Linked DNA regions of Homo sapiens: region 1 is linked to region 2. The links are contacts of gene promoters, found by promoter capture Hi-C in human tissues and cell types (Jung and others, 2019). All regions are on one chromosome and are shown on one strand. Each heading gives the region's core, a stretch centred on a gene start or on the middle of the fragment in contact. The rest is flanking DNA. Distances are from core to core; before and after follow the strand shown.

Region 1 (3,942 bases), core at 942-3,441, 560 kb before region 2:
AGGCCCCTGGTCCCTGACTGTGACCTACCTTCTTGATCTCACAGGCAGCCACGGGGTAGGCCAGCCCCTGCCCATCCTCCGTAATGCCCTCTGAGGTTGGCATTGCCATGTTGATGCCCGTGCCCAGCCTGCTGCCCGCCATGGGCTGAGGCCAGTCCATCTGGTGTTCAGGCATCCCCAGCGCGGGCACCAGCCTGTCCTGCCCGAGCCTTGCTGAATGAATGAAATGGGCTTGGAGGCATGCTCATGGGTCAAATCTCAGCCCTCCCATCTATTGGCTGGCTAACCTTGGGCGAGGCATGGCCCTCTCTGTGCCTCAGTTTCCTTTCTGTAACATGGAGGTATTACAAGTGCCCACCCCACAGGGAGATGAGGAGGAGATGGAGCCCGAGTCCAGAGGTTGAGCAGGGGTGCGCGTGCCCGCCCAGAGGTTGAGCGGGGGGGGGGGGGGGGTGCGCGTGCCCGCCCAGAGGTTGAGGGGGGGTGCGCGTGCCTGCCGCGGGGCTCGTTTCACTAGTCAGGCGACACAGTGAGGCTGGGATTTCAGGCCTGCCTCCGAAAGGCTTACCTGACAGGGAAACGTGGAGCTTGTGGTTCCCACGGTGGCAGGAAGCTTGGGGCGGGGCTGTGGATCCAGCCCTATCCCTGCCGCTCACTGAGTCACCCAGGGGCCACAGGGCCTCCGAGCATCAGGCCGCTCGTGTGTGGGGCCATTTCTGTCACATCTCGGGAGGGACAGGACCCCAGGGGTGTTGACCGAGCTCAGGTGCGTGGTGCCTGCACGCCTGACTGCACTGGAGCGGAGCAGGAAGCCTCGAGGCCGCGGACGCGGTCGGTACATCACGCTGCTGCCTGTGCCTGAGGCAGACCCCATCCTGGAAAGAGTCCCACAGCCGGAGTTTTGCTCTTGGTAAAATGGGGCGGCCTCATAGCTAGGAGCTGCATGAGACCTGGGAAACCCCGAGTGAAGGGATGGCATGGGGAGGGGGGCTCAGGACGGCAGGCTGCCCATGGGGGCCTGGTGACCGCCCTTCTGAGGCGCCTGCCGGACGCGAGTGCAGCCCTCCAGGCAGGGGGCCCTGGCTCCGCGCCTTTGAGGGCCTGCGGGAGCGGCTCCGCGTGTTCGCTTGTGGAGGGGACGGACCCCACGCTGCAGGGTAAAGCCTGCAGGTCCCCGCTCCAGGCCTGCTGTTTCTCTTCTCTGACGCGTCCACGTTCTGTAGAATGGAAATGAGGCCCATCCCCAGTGTTGCCGCCCTCAAGTGGGGGTTTGGAAGGTCCGTGCTCACTCCCATGTCACGTGGAGCTGGCTCCTAGTTTTTGCCATGAGTTTTTCTGGCCGCTCCCTGCTTTGGGGCAACATGATATGTCCCCTGAGAGGCCTTAATTTTCCTCACCTGTGAAGGAGGGCCACATCCCCCACCTCCCGCACTCTAGCGCCCTGAGGAGCTGATGTGGAGCGTCGGGCCAAGGGGCTGTTGCTGGTGGGGTCCACCCCAGTCCGCCTTTGAGTTCAGGGCCTGGCCTTCCTACAGCTCTCTCCTCGGCCCAGGTCCTGCTGCACGTGACTTGTGACATCCGATTTAGGCTTCTCAGGAGAGGGCAGGGACACAGGTCCCATGAGTGCCTTTTACTGGGGGTGGGGATTGAGAGGTGGCCCTGGGGGCCCTGGCCACGTCCCTCGCTGACTGTGCTGGTCTCCGTGCAGTGTCAACAGCATCTCCACCCTGGAGCCTGTGAGCCGGTGCCAGCGCCTGAGTGAGCTGTACCTGCGGAGGAACCGCATCCCCAGCCTGGCTGAGCTCTTCTACCTGAAGGGGCTGCCGCGTCTGCGGGTGCTGTGGCTGGCCGAGAACCCGTGCTGCGGCACCAGCCCCCACCGCTACCGCATGACCGTGCTGCGCACCCTGCCGCGCCTACAGAAGCTGGACAACCAGGGTAGGTGGCCGCAGCGGAGTCACCGGCCCTCCCAAAACAATCCCTGGAAGGGGATGTCCCCAGCCCTCTTTTCTCTTCTCCTTTTCTGCAAATACCTGGTCTGGCGGGACATAGATGTGTCCTGTGAAGTCTCCTCCAGAGGCTGTTCCCCTGGCTTCTGTGTCTCCTCTTGATCCCGCCACCCGAATGCAGCAGCGCAGCGTAGGGTCCCTCCTGGGACTGACAGTTTGGGTATCCCCCAACGACCGCAGGACCTGGTAGCAAAGCAAAAGGGTTCCTTCTTTTGCTTCTGTGAGTAGCAGCCCTGCTCTGACCATCGCCATGCGCCATGGCGAGCGGGGGCGTCAGTATCTGGCAAGCAGCATCGCACTGGTCCACAGGGACTGGGCAGGCTCCACGGGCCACTGTGAACCTAGGGTGGCGGTGCCATCGCGCCCCTGCCGTGGGGAGGGGCCGTCCCAGCACCGCAGTGCCTGCTGCTGCGCTCCACCTATTGGAGGCACTCGTGCCTCCTCTAGCCAGCGCCAGCACCGACACAGTTTTCCAGGCTGTGGTTTCATGCTGTTTGTTCATCCTTGGCATTCTCAGCACACTAGTGTCTCATCCTTGTCAGGTATACAGACACCACTATTTTCTCCCAGACAATTTTATTGATATTAATAATATAAACTTCAGGGAAATTGATATATGAGAGAAATGGAATAAATTCAATATGGTCTGTTCCTTTTTCTATTGTGTCTTAGTTGAGGTTTTGAGGAGTATTTGCTTCTGGCCAAGGCTGGTGTTGAGATTCCTGAGCAGCCCTCCACCATCTGTTGTGTGTCAGCCTGTGCCAGGCTGGGGATGGGACAGTGAGGAACCGGCTGCTACTCTGGGAGTTGTCCCTGGAGGTGGATACACGTGCATGCATTTCACAAGCAGACTGTGCCTGAAGCCACAGTGAGGACGGGAGCTGCAGTGCATGTGGCCTGCACGTGGGTGAGGCCACTCATGCTGTCTTCTGTCTTTCATCCCAAAGCTGTGACGGAGGAGGAGCTGTCCCGTGCACTGAGTGAGGGAGAGGAGATCACTGCGGCCCCAGAGAGAGAGGGCACAGGCCACGGCGGCCCCAAGCTATGCTGCACACTGAGCTCCCTCAGCTCCGCTGCTGAGACTGGCCGGGACCCGCTGGACAGCGAGGAGGAGGCAACGTGAGGCTGGAGGGCAGCGGGGACTCCGCAGCCCATCCCTGTCCCCCAGGGTCCTCCCACGGGGAGTGAATGGGGCTTCCCGTGAGCTGCGTCTCTGGGAAGTGAGGGACAGGGATTATCCGGGGGGAGTGTCTGTTCTCATCCATATTCTCTGGGAGTGACTCAGTGCCCAGGTAGTGATTTCAGTGGCAGGTCCATGTTTTGCCCAACAGCGGATGTGCCAGGGAGCAGGAGAGGGGGTGAGCCAGGCCCCGTGCCCTGGCACAGAGAAGGCTCACAGCACCAGAGCTCGTGAGGTGCAGGGAGCCCCTGGTGGGGGGGGTGGCCTAGGGCCACAGTGACTGGAATGGTTTGTGGGCACGGCCATCAGTGCCCGTATGGCCTTGGGCCTGGGGGCCGTGGAGGGGCCACAGGGCTGACTCTGCAGTGAGACGCCGGCGCCTCCCAGGGCAGTTGGCAGCGGGTCACGAACGCATTTGACAGAAGCTGGGCACTTCTCTCCTGCTTGGCAGATCACACCCGCTGCTGGTGCCTGTGGTGGGGGCATCGGGATGTGATCTCTGTTAGGCATCTGCCATCCGGCACAGGGCCTGACCCCATGGTCAGGAGCTCTCCCCCGGCATTTGTGTGTTCGGGTGCCCCCCACCCTGCCCCTGAAGCCCTGGGTGGAAGGTGTTACAGCTGGGGAGCCCCAGGGTGCCGGGAGGGCGCCCCACAGGTGAAGTAAGTGCCGGGCTCTCCAGGAGCTGCCATCTGTAGCCCCTGACCTCCCAGGAGTTGCCTCCCTTCTCTTGCCCCCGTGTGCCAGGTGGGA
Region 2 (2,700 bases), core at 1-2,500:
TTCCAGCACTTTGGGAGCCCGAGGCAGGTGGATCACGAGGTCAGGAGTTCGAGACCAGCCTGGCCAATATGGTGAAACCCCGTCTCTACTAAAAACACAAAAATTAGCTGCGCATGAAGGCGCGCGCCTGTAGTCCCAGCTACTCGGGAGGCCGAGGCAGGAGAATGGTGTGAACCCCGGAGGCGGAGCTTGCAGTGAGCCGAGATTGCGCCACTGCACTCCAGCCTAGGCGACAGATCCAGACTCCGTCTCAAAAAAAAAAAAAAAAAGGCCGGGCGCAGTGGCTCACACCTGTAATCCCAGCACTTTGGGAGGCCAAGGCGGGTGGATCACAAGGTCAGGAGATCGAGACCATCCTGGCTAACACAGTGAAACCCCGTCTCTACTAAAAATACAAAAATTAGCCAGGTGTGGTGGCGGGCGCCTGTAGTCCCAGCTACTCGGGAGGCTGAGGCAGGAGAATGGCGTGAACCCGGGAGGCGGAGCCTGCAGTAAGCCGAGATCGCGCCACTGCACTCCAGCCTGGGAGACAGAGCGAGACTCCGTCTCAAAAAAAAAAAAAAAAAAAAAAAAAGAAAAGAAAAGGAAAGAAAGAAAAGAAATCCTAAAACGCAAATTCCACCAGAGAACCCTGCCTTCTTCTCATCCCTCTGATCTACCCCCTGCCCCCACCCAGCCTGGAGCGCGTGGGCGCCGTCTCCCCCTCCCTGGGCCCCTCTGTCCACCCCCTTCAGCCTTCAGTGTTCTCGGTCACAAGCGGTGATGTCCACTGCAGCCCGCACACCTGCTCCCGCGGGGCCGGGACCCCTGACCCCTGACCCCTGCAGCGCTGCGCCCCGCCCTCCCTCGTGCGCGGCCCGGACCCCGCCACCCTGCAGGATTGCGCCTACTCCGACTGCCCCTTCCCTATCGTCCCACCCTGCGCGCCCAACCCACCGGCGACACCCGGCCGCGCCCCCGCCCCGGTCCGTGTGACTCGGCGCCCGGAAAGACGATACCAGCCCCGGGAGGGGGGCGCTCCCTCCCGACACCAGCGCTGGGCGCGGAGACCCAGCCTGCGGCGAGTGGTGGCCAGGTTCCCCGCCCCGCGCCCCGCCCCGCGCCCCGCCCCGCGCGTCCCTTCTTGCGGGGCCACCGCGACCCCGCAGGGGACTCCGAAGCCAAAGTGCCTCCTCCCCGCCCCTTGGTTCCGCCCGCGCGTCACGTGACCCCAGCGCCTACTTGGGCTGAGGAGCCGCCGCGTCCCCTCGCCGAGTCCCCTCGCCAGATTCCCTCCGTCGCCGCCAAGATGATGTGCGGGGCGCCCTCCGCCACGCAGCCGGCCACCGCCGAGACCCAGCACATCGCCGACCAGGTGGGTGGGCCGCGGGGACGGGGCCGGCCCGGAGTCCTGCCTTAGCCTCAGGGCGCGGCCGCGGCTCCTGGAGCGAAAGAAGCCGCTTTGGCCCCGCTGCGCACCCCTGGGCTGGCCCGGGCTGTGGCCGTGAGAGGCCTCCCTCCGCTCGGGCGCTGCGCGCGAGTGAGCAGCGGGGGGCCGCGCCTGGGGCGCCGCTGGGGAGACATTGGGCTCCGCTGAATACAGCAAGGGCGAGTGGGAATTGATAGCCCGGAGCAGGGTGCGGTCCCTGCATGGACAGTCTCTGAGAGGAAACCCCAGGGATGAGGCGCTTCTGGTTTCAGGCAGGCAGGGTGATCGGGCGTCGCCGGCGATGGCGCAGGTGAGCAGCCGGCTCCGATCTCCACGGTGATCCGATAGCAAGCGGGTGGGAAGGGTCTGGCTAAACTGACTTAGCCAGGCTTCTTGCTAAAAGTGGATTTTACAAGGAAGTGCGCAGGTGGCCTAGGCGCTTCAGGAGCCCGACTACAGTTTGGCCAAGCAAGAATCTTTGTCAATATCCTCATCTAGTTCGGGAAAAAAATCATGAGAGAGAGTGCAAGAGGTCCCCAGTGATAAGGCACATGGGTTAAAAACTTAAGTGTATCTGCATAAAAGGTCCACAGGTTTCTTTACATGCTTCCGATTCTAGCACTGTTTCAAACTGTAAGTCTAAATAAAAAGTTAAAACACAGAAAAACAAGATAAAAACCGGGCTGGGTTGCAGATGGCAACCTTCCCTGTGTCTCGGTTTCCTCGTCTGTAAAATGGACGTCCTGTTGCTCTGCGCCTGCCAGAAGATTCTGGAGGGGCTGAAATGAGCAGGTCATCTGTGCAAGAAGCCCCCTCCGGTGGAGCACAGGCCAGGCCCGCCTCGCTGTCATGGTTGGTGACCGACGGGATGCCCCAAGCAAGAACAGGTCCAGGCGATGCTGAGGCCTGTGTTTTTTTTTTTTGTTTTTGAGACTCAGTCTCACTCTTGCCCAGGGTGGAGTGCAGTGGCACAATCTCGGCCCACTGCAACCTCCGCTTCCCAGGTTCAAGGGATTCTCCTGCCTTAGCCTCCCGAGTAGCTGGGATTGCAGGTGCTCGCCACCACGCCCAGCTAATTTTTGTATTTTTAGTAGAAACGGGGTTTTGCCATTTGGCTAGGCTGGTCTCAAACTCCTGACCTCAAGTGATCCGCCCACCTCAGCCTCCCAAAGTTCTGGGATTACATCCTTGAGCCACCGTACCCAGCTGGAACTGTTTTTTTCTACTTTATTATTAGGCTGACAGTTTAAATGTCCCTTCAGTTGTAAGAGACAATTGTGTGAAGAGCCAGT

Evidence for each region. Contacts are between HindIII fragments. The study calls those that stand out against the background at their distance.
Region 1: a contact is called between a fragment that was not itself captured here and the fragment with the promoter of CSTB in region 2, in 1 of the 25 tissues and cell types used here (dorsolateral prefrontal cortex).

The regions. Positions count from the first base shown.
Region 1 is chr21:44,331,029-44,334,970 of GRCh38, reverse strand. It overlaps CFAP410 (cilia and flagella associated protein 410), which reads left to right. Exons shown (of 7, transcript NM_004928.3): 4 at 1,709-1,938; 5 at 2,957-3,128. Among named protein-coding and RNA genes, the nearest start is that of CFAP410, 6.4 kb to the left of the region's middle. RefSeq lists enhancers at 2,602-3,101, 3,102-3,603. The HindIII fragment of the contact is 7,900 bases long and covers 1-3,942 here.
Region 2 is chr21:43,774,858-43,777,557 of GRCh38, reverse strand. It overlaps CSTB (cystatin B), which reads left to right and starts at 1,250. Exons shown (of 3, transcript NM_000100.4): 1 at 1,250-1,354. The coding sequence starts at 1,289. RefSeq lists a silencer at 672-1,671. The HindIII fragment of the contact is 5,981 bases long and covers 1-2,700 here.